Regions from separate parts of the Homo sapiens genome. Here region 1 is linked to region 2. The links are contacts of gene promoters, found by promoter capture Hi-C in blood cells and fetal thymus (Javierre and others, 2016). All regions are on one chromosome and are shown on one strand. The core of a region is centred on a gene start or on the middle of the fragment in contact, and the rest is flanking DNA. Distances in the headings are between cores, read along the strand shown. Region 1 overlaps RABL6 (RAB, member RAS oncogene family like 6). Region 2 holds the start of FUT7 (fucosyltransferase 7).

Evidence for each region. Contacts are between HindIII fragments. The CHiCAGO score rates a contact against its expected background, and 5 or more counts as called.
Region 1: a contact is called between a fragment that was not itself captured here and the fragment with the promoter of FUT7 in region 2, in 3 of 17 cell types (naive CD4 T cells, non-activated CD4 T cells and naive CD8 T cells). The highest score is 7.2, in naive CD4 T cells.

Annotation. Positions count from the first base shown.
Region 1 is chr9:136,809,087-136,815,469 of GRCh38, forward strand. The region is part of intron 1 of RABL6 (RAB, member RAS oncogene family like 6); the gene reads left to right. It also overlaps the pseudogene LOC100422233 and the pseudogene NCLP1. Among named protein-coding and RNA genes, the nearest start is that of CCDC183-AS1, 3.4 kb to the left of the region's middle. The HindIII fragment of the contact is 3,825 bases long and covers 1-3,805 here.
Region 2 is chr9:137,030,202-137,036,034 of GRCh38, forward strand. It overlaps FUT7 (fucosyltransferase 7), which reads right to left and starts at 1,887. Exons shown (of 2, transcript NM_004479.4): 1 at 1,778-1,887; 2 at 1-1,524. The coding sequence starts at 1,790. The coding sequence ends at 509. It overlaps LINC02908 (long intergenic non-protein coding RNA 2908), which reads left to right. Exons shown (of 3, transcript NR_171031.1): 2 at 1,797-3,030; 3 at 4,449-5,833. RefSeq lists enhancers at 1,922-2,031, 4,437-4,636, 4,489-5,377, 5,378-5,833. The HindIII fragment of the contact is 19,925 bases long and covers 1-5,833 here.

The DNA.
Region 1 (6,383 bases), core at 643-3,142, 220 kb before region 2:
TTTTGACATTGCTTCCCTCTTAGCCATTTCCGTATGTTTCTATGAGGTTTTAGGACGCTACGCCTATCCAGTTTTTTGGTCACTTTAAGGGGAGCCTTAGAGCCTCCGTGATATTTCCATGGTAATGTAGAATTTTAAGAACTAATGATCAGAAAGACTCTTGTGCAGGTTTAAAAGCAAGTTCATGAATTCGCGTGCCGTGTGCACGGAGAGAGGCCGTAGTTCCTGGGGCTGGAGCTAGTCCAGGAGGACAGTGAAGATGTCGCCTTCCTTAGTCCCCCGGCCTGTGAGCAAGAGGAAGCTGCAGACCACTCGGGCCACCCTCACCCAGACACCTTTAGCAGTAAGCAAGATAAAACAACTTCTTAAAGATAAGTCTGAGCATCTAGGTATGAAAGTTGGTGTCCGGGCCGGGCACGGTGGCTCATGCCTGTAATCCCAGCACTTTGGGAGGCCAAGGCGGGCAGATCACGAGGTCAGGAATTCGAGACCAGCCTGGCCAACATAGTGAAACACCGTCTCTACTAAAAATACGAAAAAAAAATTTAAAAGAAAGTTGATGTCCGAACCAAGGGCCGTATTGGCTTTTCTTATACTCTAGAACATACGACGACAAAGAAGATTTTGATGAAGTTCAAATTAGAGTCAGCGTGCTCATCAGAAAGAAAGCGCAGCCAACACGTTTAGGAACAGAAACGGATTATGTTGAAGACAAACAATCCATTGCGTTTGTGTTCAGTAACCCAAGCATCAAAGGAACTTGTGGCTGGGGAGAAGGCTTGACTATTTGAAATCTCAGGACTCCTCTGTCCAGGAGCTCCCAGACTCCCGTGGAGTGGAAGCCTGGGGGCTCGCTGAAGAAGTCACGTGACTGGAACGTGCTTAATGCTTGGCTGTCTGGTAAGGAAAATAAAGTGGTGCATTTTGAATAAAAATAAAAGCTGATTTTAAATGTGTTATAATTGAAACTTTATACATAGCTGGCATTCGGAGAAGAGAATATTGAGTCAAAATAACTGAGTTTACGCCAGTTTTTAGACTCTGCGTTTGGATCCTTTATTTAATTTTATTGCTTACAGTATTGGCTAAGCTCAGTATTAGTCCCTGGGAAATCAGGCCTGGACCTGGAAACTGTTCACCTTCTGAAAAGGCTCCCCGAGGGTCCTGGGCAAGGTCCACCTCATGCACCAGGACCACCCCTGTGTGGTCCTGGGCGAGTGTGACTAAAAAGGGCAATGGGGTCCTTCCAGAGGAGAAAAGCCAGTCTCCAGTACTTGGAGAACAGGTTATGATCTCCTAGAACTGAATGAAAGGTGGTGAGACAGAGAGAAATTTGAATTTGTACCTAAATTACATTTTAGAAAGATGTTATCTTTATAGCTGAATAACATGCAATTTTAAAACTTTTGAGTTTCTGTGTTAGAATAGAAAGTTTCTAGTATTTCTTTTCTTTTCTTTTCTTTTTTGAGACAGAGTTTTGCGTTTTGCTGTGTCTCCCAGGCTGGAGTGCAGTGGCGTGATCTCAGCTCACTGCAAGCTCCTCCTCCCGGGTTCACACCATTCTCCTGCTTCAGCCTCCCGAGTAGCTGGGACTATAGGCACCGGCCACCACGCCCGGCTAATTTTTTGTATTTTTAGTAGAGGCAGGATTTCACCGTGTTAGCCAGGATGGTCTCAATCTCCTGACCTCGTGATCTGCCCGCCTCAGCCTCTCAAAGTGCTGGGATTACAGGCGTAAGCCACCATGCCCGGCTTTCTGGTATTTATTTTCTCAAATATTTTACAGAGCGTAACAGACCAGCAATGTGATCAAGACAGAGTCGAGGGTTTTGGGGGTGAGAGTTTCTGGGAACTGCTGCGGGTTTCCAGGAGTCTGGGCTCTCCTCCTGGGCCCTGCATTTGCTCGGAGTTGCTAGTGGTCCCGGTAGACGTGTGGGACACCCACTGGTTTTAGAATAAAAACTCGAATGAGACATTGGACCATAATGGATGAAAAAGTCAAACTCTGTCAAATATTTGAAGAGATTTATTTTTGAGCTGAATATGAGTGACCATGGCTCGTGACATAGCCCTCAGGTGACCCTGAGGACATGTGCCCAAGGTGGAGGGCACAGCTTGGTTTTATACATTTTAGACATGAGACAGTAATCAAATACATTTAAGATATATGTTGATTTGGTCCACAAAGGCGGGACAACTTGAAGTGGGGGCTTCCAGGTCGGAGGTAGTTTAAAAAAATTGTGTTTTTTTGCCGGGCGCGGTGGCTCACGCCTGTAATCTCAGCACATTGAGAGGCCGAGGCAGGCGGACAACCTGAGGCCAGGAGTTCAAGACCAGCCTGGCCAACATGTCGAAACCCCGTCTCTACTAAAACTATAAAAATTAACCGGGTGTGATGGTGGGTGCCTGTAATCCCAGCTACTCAGGAGGCTGAGGCGGGAGAATCGCTTGAGCCCAAGTGGCAGAAGTTACAGTGAGCTGAGATTGTGCCACTGCACTCCAGCCTGGGTGACAGAGTCAGACCCTGTCTCAAAAAAAAAAAAAAAAACAATTGCACCACCACACCCAGCTAATTTTGGTATTTTTTAGAGAGACAGGGTTTCACCACGTTGCCCAGCTGGGCTCAGACCCCTCTACTCAAGCAGTCCGAACCCCTTGGCCTCCCAAAGTGCTGGGATTACAGGCGTGAGCCACCGCGCCTGGCCAGATTATGTTTCTTATCAGACTTAAAGTCAGTGTTGATGTTAAATGCTGGTGAGCTTTTCCTGAATTCCAGAAGGGAGGAGGCCACAATGAGGCCTGTCTGACTCCCCTCTTCCCATAATGGCCTGAACCAGTCTTTCAGATGAAATTTGGATGGCCCTGGCCTAGAAGAGGAAGTCCATTCAGATGGTTGGCAGGCCTTGGGATTTTAATTTTGGTTTACACAATTTTGAAATTATTTGCATATAAAATTATTAGGAAAATTATTTGAAATTATTTGGAAGAAAGATTGTTGCCTGAGTTGGTCTGTCCCTTTCTACTGTGACTGGACACAAAATATCAGTTGTATTTGGTGCAGAATTTTTCTGTGGAGTTGCTCCTGAGTGAGCATTATTGTGCAGCTCTGATACTGGCCTGGCCCAGGAGCTCGGACAACCAGAGTCCTCTCTGAGTAGACACTGGTGCGAATTTAGAAATGGGACTTAGCAGGCCGGGCACGGTGGCTCACACCTGTAATCCCAGCACTTTGGGAGGCTGAGGTGGGCGGATTACATGAGGTCAGGAGTTCAAGACCAACCTGGCCAACATGATGAAACTCATCTCTACTGAAAATATGAAAATTAGCCAGGTGTGGTGGCGTATGCCTGTAATCCCAGCTACTCGGGAGGCTGAGGCAGGAGAATCGCTTGAACCCGGGAGGCAGAGGTTGCCGTGAGCCAAGATCACACCACTGCGCTCCAGCCTGGGCGACAGAGTGAGACTTCGTCTTAAAAAAAAAAGAAAAGAAAGAAAAGTTTATATGAATATCCAGTCAAAACAAACAAGGAAGGTATTACCCTTGAAATGTTGTCTATACGAATTTCCAAGGAGACCACAGGACTGTAGACTGTCTTGGAATGTCCTCAGAGAGCTCTGTCATTGATCAGGTAACGGAATAAAAACCCCAGCGTCCTTTCTTTCAAATGGGAGAGGGAAAGACAAAGGGACAGAAGCCGTTCAAACTTTGTCTTCTTTCCTTGTGGCTTGTGGTCACCTCTGCCTCCCCAGAAGCTGCCTCGCCCACCAAAGCCTTCCTGGCTTCTGCCACCACCTCATCCTCCAAAGCTTCCTCTACCTCCATCACAACCCCAAAGCCACCTTCGCCCTTAGGTTTGGCCCAGTCCAAGTTACCTTTGTTTCCCTCAATTTCACCATCTTCCGCGGCCTCCTTGGCGCTTTTGGCATCCTCCTCACTGTTGCCATCTACAGAGCCAAAGCCTTTGGGGCACCCGGTTTCCTGGTTGGTGACTACCCTTGCCCAACAAAGCTGTCGAATGACTAAAGCCTCTTCAGTGGTGTCCTCAGACAGGCCTTTGACAGACAGTTTTAGATGGCTGGCTCCTGGCATCAGGTGGTCCTTGCAACTCCAGCCTGATTGCCCTGCCCCCAGTTTCCCTTTTATTACAGGAATTTAAAGCTGCTTTATCATCTTCAAATGAAGCGAACTGTAAGTGCATGCACACCCTTTAGATTTGCCATTTTGGTTCTGGGGCACTTTGATAAAAGTTGCCTTGTCTCAGATTCTTTCTGAAGAGTTTCTTCTGTTGCACTGTAGGAGAGGTTGCTTAAACCAGAGTTTTTGATTCACCCCTCCAAGTGGTCTCTCTAGTCTTGATTTAGACCTTTCTCTCCATGATAGTGCAGGGAAATAGATCGGCCATCCATCTCTGTTCCCTGCGTTTCTTCAGAAGTTTTCTCTGCATTAGCTTCTGTCTTAACCTCAATATAAGCAGTCCCTTTACTCTTCCCATCCTTGCTGACTAATCCAATCTCCACAGCATCTTCAAACACTTTTTTGTTTTTTGAGCCAGAGTCTCGCTCTGTTGCCCAGGCTGGAGTGCAGTGGCCGTGATCTCAGCTCACTGCAAGCTCCACCTCCCAAGTTTGCGCCATTTTCCTGCCTCAGCCTCCCGAGTAGCTGGGACTACAGGCACCCGTCACCACACCCAGCTAATTTTTTGTATTTTTAGTAGAGACAGGGTTTCACCGTGTTAGCCAGGATGGTCTTGATCTCCTGACCTCGTGATCTGCCTGCCTTGGCCTCCCAAAGTGCTGGGATTACAGGTGTGAGCCACTGCGCCACTGCGCCCAGCCAAAACACTTGTAATTCATCCTGAGTGACTTTGTAAGGGAGATTTGTAGCCAAAAGTATTCTCACATCTTGCTCTTTCTTACTGTCTTTTCCTTTTGGTTTCTCTAGTTTAATTTCATTGCCAAAGTCTTTCAAACCAGCGAGTTCCAAGGCTCTTTCCAGGTCTTCAGCAGCTTGAAAATCCACATAGTCAGATTTCCTTGTCATACCCATTCTGACATCCACAACAGCAAGATCATTTTTAGCAAAAATATCATGGATACTAGTTTTTGTTTTTCTTTCTTTTTCGAGACAGGGTCTTGCTCTGTTACCCAGGCTGGAGTGCAATGGTGCTCACTGCAGCTTCCACCTCCCGGGTTCAAGTGATTCTCCTGCCTCAGCCTCCCCAGTAGCTGGGACTACAGGCACGCACCACTACGCCCGGCTAATTTTTGTATTTTTAGTAGAGACAGGGTTTCATTATGTTGGCCAGGCTGGTCTCAAACTCCTGACCTTGTGATCTGTCCACCTCAGCCTCCCAAAGTGCTGGGATTACAGGCGTGAGCCACCAGGCCTGGCCCATGGATACTAGTTTTTAACTCAGGAGCAGACTTGTTAAAGTTCAGGTTTCCAACAAAGATTGAAAGACGTTCCAGCCTGGCCAACATGGTGAAACCCCGTCTCTACTAAAAATACAAAAATTAGCCGGGTGGTAGTGGTACACGCCTGTAATCCCAGCTACTCAGGAGGCTGAAGCAGGAGAATCACTTGAGCCTGGCAGGTGAAGGTTGCAGTGAGCCAAGATTGCGCCACTGCAGTCCAACCTGGGCGAGAGAGTGAGACCCTGTCTTAAAAAAAAAAAAAAGGCACAGTTGGTTCTGTGCTTCTCACTCTCCACTTTGTGTTTCTTGGCTTCAGAAGCTGCTGTTTGGTCATTTCCTTCATTTTCCAGGTGCTTCTTTGACAGACCCTTCCTCCTCTTTGTCGTCTTCATCACTTCATCCTCTTCATCATCGTCACCCTCGTCCTTGTCCTCATCATCCTCTTCATCTTCATTCCCAGCCATCCTCTTGGCTTTCCCAGGAACAGCATTTGTAGAAGCTTTCTTTCCTTTGGCTGGTGTTGTTTCCATAGGTGCTGCTTCAGAGCCATCTTCCTCAGCATCGTCCTCATCGTCCTCGTCCTCATCCCCTGAGGCAGGGGCACCCGCTGCTGCCTTCATCACTGCTGGTTCAGAGTCATCCTCCTCCTCATCGCTGTCTTCCTTCTTGGCGTTCTTGCCGTTCTTTGCCCCCTTGGCTGGGGTGTCCCTTCTTGCCAGGAGCTGCTGCCAGTGCTTTGCCTGCTATGGCTCCCTTCTTGGCAGGTGTGGCGACTGCTTTGCCTGGAGTGACAGTTGCTTTCTTGGTGGGTGTGGCACCTGCAGCCTTTTTTGTTCGGGAAACTGTCACCTTCTTGGCTGGGGTTGCAGCAGCCTTCTTGCCTTTCTCCTGAGGTGTGACAGTCTCTTCTCCACAGCTGTCATCTTCTTCATCTTCTGACATTTCCTCATCTTCACTTCCTCCTTCTG
Region 2 (5,833 bases), core at 637-3,136:
CCTCCCTCCCTGAGCCCAGAACAAGCTGGTTTGCTCCCCGTGGTCTCCTGGGCCCCGCCCCAGCCTACACACAGGGACCTCAGAACTATGGACGTGGCAGGGACCCGTGCCTGTGTCTCGGGGACCACAGGGCCTCTGCTACCGAGGAAGCTCGGGGTCCCAGGTTTGGCCCCCACAAACTTCAGGCTGGGGTGCCCCCCAGCCCCAAGGGCCCTGCCTTTCACCCTCTTCCAGCCAGGCCTTCACCCACCCAAGATTTGTTCAGGGTGGGGAGGGTCCTCGGCAGCCTTTCCCCTCCCGTCTGCCGCAGCAGGCACCCGTTACCTCCCTCCCACTCTCACCTCCTCTGCATGCTCCAGTGCCCACCTGCACCCCCCACCCCTGCTTCCTGACCTCTGTGCCCAGCCTCCCGTTAGCCCGCTGCTTGCCGGTAAGGGCCGGATGCCTGGTGGTTTGATTTCGACACCCAGCCCTTCCACCCACACCCACCTCCCCCGGCCAGCGGATCTCAGGCCTGAAACCAACCCTCAAGGTCCTCATAGACTTGGCTGCGGGGTAGGTGTGGGTAGCGGTCACAGATGGCACAGAAACGTTCCCGCCAGTCGGTGAACAGTCGCACGCGGAGCCTGTCACGCCAGGCAAAGAAGCGTTGGTATCGGCTCTCATTCATGCCAGTGAGGAAAGCCGCCAGCTCTCGGGCTGAGCCAAAGTCATCCACATGCACGAAGGCGTCAGCCGGCACGAAGGCCTCATAGGTGGCCCGTGGGGGCCCCAGCACCACTGGCACAGTGCCAGCCACCAGTGCGTTGCGCCAGAATTTCTCCGTAATGTAGTCGCGGTGCTGAGAGTTCTCAAAGGACAGGTAGAAGCGGTACTGGGCCACGGTGGGCACCAGGCAGCTGGCGCACAGTGGCCGTCCATTGGCACGGCCAAAGACATCCACCCGCAGATGAGGCGCCAGCTGCCGGTACAGCCTGGCACGCAGCTGCCGCTCCTGGAAGTTGCTGACCACCCAGGCGGCCACCCTGCTCTTGGCTGGCAGCGGTGGCGAGGGCCCCCAGTGGGGCTCCAGGCGGCCATAGGGCACAAAGATGTCCGAGTCGCGCCGGTAGCTCAGCACCCAGTTGAAGATGCCTCGGAGGTGGCTGAGGCCGTGGGTGTGGCTAGGAGACTCCATGGAGGCCCACACCCAGGGCTGCCCTCGCGGCCGCTGGGCCAGGGGCAGGTGGGACCGCCGGGTCTGCAGCTCGCGGTGGTGGAAGACCACGGCGTCGGCGCTGGCCAGCAGGCTTCGGTTGGCACTCAGGTGGCAGCGGGCGATGCCGTAGCGGGTGCAGGTGTCGCTGGGCAGCTCTGGGGGCTGGTCAGTGAAGGGCCAGTGCCAGACAAGGATGGTGATCGTGGGCTGGGGTGCCGGGGTACCCCGAGGGGCTGACCCCAGCAGCCACAGGAGCCAGAGGGCAGCGAGCAGAGCCACCCCGGCCAGGACCCCCAAGCCTCGCAGCCTCCGGGTGGGGCCGTGCCCTGCAGCAGCACGAGGGAGGGGAGGCTCTGTCACTTGGGCTCAGGGACATCCACACGCCCCACTCAGCGCCAACCCCGTCCTCCCCTCCCATGGGCTCAGGGACACCCACATGCCCCACTCAGCGCCACCCCCGTCCTCCCCTCCCATGGGCTCAGGGACACCGACATGCCCCACTCAGCGCCACCCCCGTCCTCCCCTCCCAGGTTGCCTAGCTGTCCCCAGCTTGGGCCTCCCCGAGGGCCAGACACTCACCAGCATTATTCATCCACAGTCTCCCAGGATCAGTCAGCCAAGAGACCCGAGATTCTCAAATCACGGCAGCCGCCAGAGGTGCCCCTGAAATCACAGCTACGCCCTAGCTCAGCCCCGCCTGGAACTGTGCTCCTTTTATCTCTGCCCAAGGTGAGGGAACTCAGGGGACCTTCCTGCTCCTGCCCCGCCCCTGCCCCCACAACCTTTGGCATCAACCACTGTCCCCACCCCCATCTCGGGGACTTGCTAGTCCTGGGGCTGCTGGGAGGGGTACAGCCACAAGAGGGATGCCAAGCCAGGGCAATATGACGCCCCCACAGCCCACCCCACTGGTCTCCAGAGAGGCCCAGAGATGTCCAGCTGGGCAGGCAGAGGACAGAGAGGCTCGGGCAGGCTTGGCCCAGGGCAGAGAAGGCCCAGGTGCAGGCACCCTGAGCACAGATGGCCCCCCAGCCCCCACCCAGCTACCCAGGCCTGGGCGCTGCAGACAGCGAGTGCACTTCCCCAGAGGGCCAGGTGGCTCCTCCCACGGCAGTATCACCCACTTCCCCCAGCTCACCACCAGCTGGGCCCTGGTCTCCCAGGAGAATCTTACACATTGAAGATGTACTGTGCTCAGCTCTTTGCCGGAAGCTAAAGCTCCCAATTGGGCCATCCCACCCCACTCTGCCACCTCTGCCATCTAGGAACCCAGATGCCCGGAGAGGAGGTCTGTCCTGGGGCCCTTAGTGTCTTCCCACAGGAGCCCAGCGCGTGCCTGCAAGGGCCTGGTCCCGGAATGAACTGTGGATGGAGGCTGCTTTGTCCTTTTCCCCGTCCAGATCCATGCCCATAGACACCGCTGACTATAGGCTGGGCCCAGGGTCCCTTCCTCCAGCCTGCAGCAGAGGGGCTTTCCAGGCTGGAAAGGGAAGGAGTCCTTTTGTCCCTGACGCAAGCGGGTTGGGGGCCAGCACCCGCTCCAGGAAGAGGAAGGGATCCAGCCTGAAGTCCAGACTCCCCGCTCCCTCTAAGCCAGGGCCTGGAGCCTGGAGGCCAGGTTCCTTCTTCTACACCAGCCCACGTTGGGTGCCAGCCAGGCTGGGATGGCCCTGCGGGGTCACCCTGAGCCCCAGCCAACCAACACCCCACTCTCAGCCACAGTGGGAGGCCCCATCAGCCTCTTCACCCAACCACGTTGCCACTCTGCTGCACGGGACCTTGTGTGGTCCCAGGCGTGGCCAGACCCAGACGTCCTGGAGATCTCAATGCAGGTCAGGCTTGGTTTGTTTGTTTGTTTGTTTGTTTGTTTTTTGAGAGGGAGTCTTGCACTATCGCCCAGGCTGTAATCCCAGCATTTTGGGAGGCCAAGGCTTGTGGATCACCTGAAGTCAGGATCAAGTGGTGCGATCTTGGCTCACTGCAACCTCCACCTTCCGGGTTCAAGTGATTCTCCTGTCTCAGCCTCCCAAGTAGCTGGGATTATGGGTGCCTGCCACCACGCCCAGCTAATTTTTGTATTTTTAGTAGAGATGGGGTTTTCCCATGTTGGCCAGGCTGGTCTCAAACTCCTGACTTCAGGTGATCCACAAGTTTCAGCCTCCCAAAGTGTTGGGATTACAGGCATGAGCCACCGCGCCCAGCCAAGTTTGCTTTTTTGTGTGTGGGTTTTTGTTTTTTGTTTTTTGAGACAGGGTCTTGCTCTGTTGCCCAGGCTGGAGTGCAGTGGCGCAGTCACGGTTTGCTGCAGCCTCAACCTCCTGGGCTCAAGCAATGCTCCCACCTCAGCCTCCCAAGGAGCTGGGTCTATGGGTGTGCACTACCATGCCTGGTTAATTTTTTAAAATTTTTTGTAGAGGCAGAGTCTTGTTATGTTGTCCAGGCTAGTTTCAAACTCCTGGCTCAAGCAGTCCTCCCACCTCGGCCTCCCAAAATGCTGGGATGCTGGGAATGAGGACGCGTCTGTCCTGTCAGGTCTTTTGGGGGCTCAGATCGTGTGTCCTGGGAGGAATGGCAACCATGAACTGTTGTCCAGACCTTTGCCCCAGCACCCTCAGAGGGGGCCTGCCTCCCACCACCCCTGTCCCTGTCCTGTTCTACTTTTGGGCCCCAGGGGCTGCTGGCCTCTCCCCGGCCCCACAGTGAGGACAAGGCTGCCTTGGGAGGGGAACCAGGCAGCTGGAGACTGAAGTGGGAGGATCCCACTGTGGGGACAGAGGCAAGACTGGGACAGGGTGGTAGTCAGAGGCCCCCACCCCTGTGGCGCAGTGTAGCCTCTGAGCTGAGCTTTGCTGCGGAACTTGTGCAACGGCTGGAGGGAGGGGGGCTGGAGGGAGGGGGACTTGGAGGGAGGGGGCTTGGGAGGGGGGCTGGAGAGAGGGGGGTTTGGAGGGAGGGGGCTGGAGGGAGGGGAGCTTGGAGGGGAGCTTGGAGGGAGGGGGGTTTGGAGGGAGGGGTGCCTGTGGGCGCCACGGGAAACTGTCAGTGCCTGAGCTGCTTGGCTTAGGGGCTGGCACCAGAGTGGGCAGCTGCCTCCAGCCCCGCCTTTCCAGCCTCCCATGTTTTCGGTGATGACCACAGTGGCACCTGGGCCTTTAATCCCACCCCAGCGTTCCTCCTCTGGCAGGGGGCCCCCGGGGAGCCACACCTTGGCTTCAGCCTCACACCACCCCATCTCTTCTCCTTGAAACAGACACCCGGCGGCAGTTCCTGCAGGAAGGAGGCTGTCCTGCCACGCCTGCGGGTGACCCGGCCTCTGGTGCCAGAGCCTGCCATCCTTCCTGTTTGTGCTGCCAGGCTGGCAGGGTCCCTTGCCACCGACCTCAGCCGCAGCCACAGCCTGCTCCCTCCCTGGGTGGATTTGAAGGAGCCTCCCCCACCCTCCGCCCCTAGCTTGCTCCTTGAGGACCCTGGGCAGGGTGGCTGCCATGGGGCCCAATCGTGCGTGGGAACCTGCGAGCTGGCAAACGGGGCTCGGGGGTTTTGCCCAGAAATGGGTCAGAACGAAAGCCTCTCAGAGGAAAGAAAAGGGCATGAGTCAAAGAGAAAGTCGGGGGGCAGGGGCTCCCCCTCATCTCACCCCACCCAGGCCTCCTGACTCCCTGGGTTTGTGCGGACCCAGGCAGGCAGCCAACCCCAGCTCCGTGGTGTGTGAGCATCGTGATGATCAGGACACAAGCTCTTCCCCGCTGAGCCTTCACTGTGGGCCAGCTTCCCGGTGGATGCCCACTGAAGAGGCCTCAACCCAGTGGGCCCCACTCCAGACCAAGAGCAGACCATTGGCCAGCTGCCCCCTGCAGACAGCGGCACCCGGGGCAGCAGCAAGGTGAGGGGCACCCAGCCCCAGCCCCAGGGGCGTCTCAGGGAGCGGGCTGAGCCTGGCTGTCTTCCTGAGCCCCACCTGCTTCATGGGTTGGCTTGAGCAAGGCAGTCCAGATGCGTGTCTCGAGCGCTCCCTGGCGGCATGCTGCAAAGCTACATGGCTCCGGCAACAAGGAAGACTGCCCTTATTCTCAGTAACAGGTGGAGCTGGGGGCTGGAGAGCCCCTCGGACCTCGCCTTGGGAAAGCTGGGTGGGTGCACGGAGCCTGGCAGGTGGCCAAGGGGACCCCCAAGTGGAGGGATTGGTCGAGGGGCAGCACAGGGTGGTGCAGTGGGTGAGCTCAGCCCCTCCCCTCCAACTCTCATCCCATTGAGCCCCAAGGCGTGGGGGGATCACGTCTGTCCTTGTTCTCCTCCAGGTGGAGCTGCTGGGTGGGGCTCTGGTCCTCCAGGGACCCACTCTGCACCCCAAGTTTTGCCGGGACCCGCTCCTCTGTGTTGTGTGGCTGTAGGGGAGGGCTGCAGCCAGGGACTCTGAACCCGGGGCCGGCCCACCCAGCCACCCAGGGTGGGGAACAAGATCGCCTCCCAGGGCCAGAAGCTGGGGATGTCCTTGCTTCCTAGGATGTTGGCTAGGGGATCACACGCCCCACATTCTGGGTCAAGCATGGTCCTGCCCCAGCATCTTGCTGGGTTGGGGGCATCTCTGCACAGATGAGTGCCACCCCAGCGTCTCCGCCAGGGTCTGGGCATGTC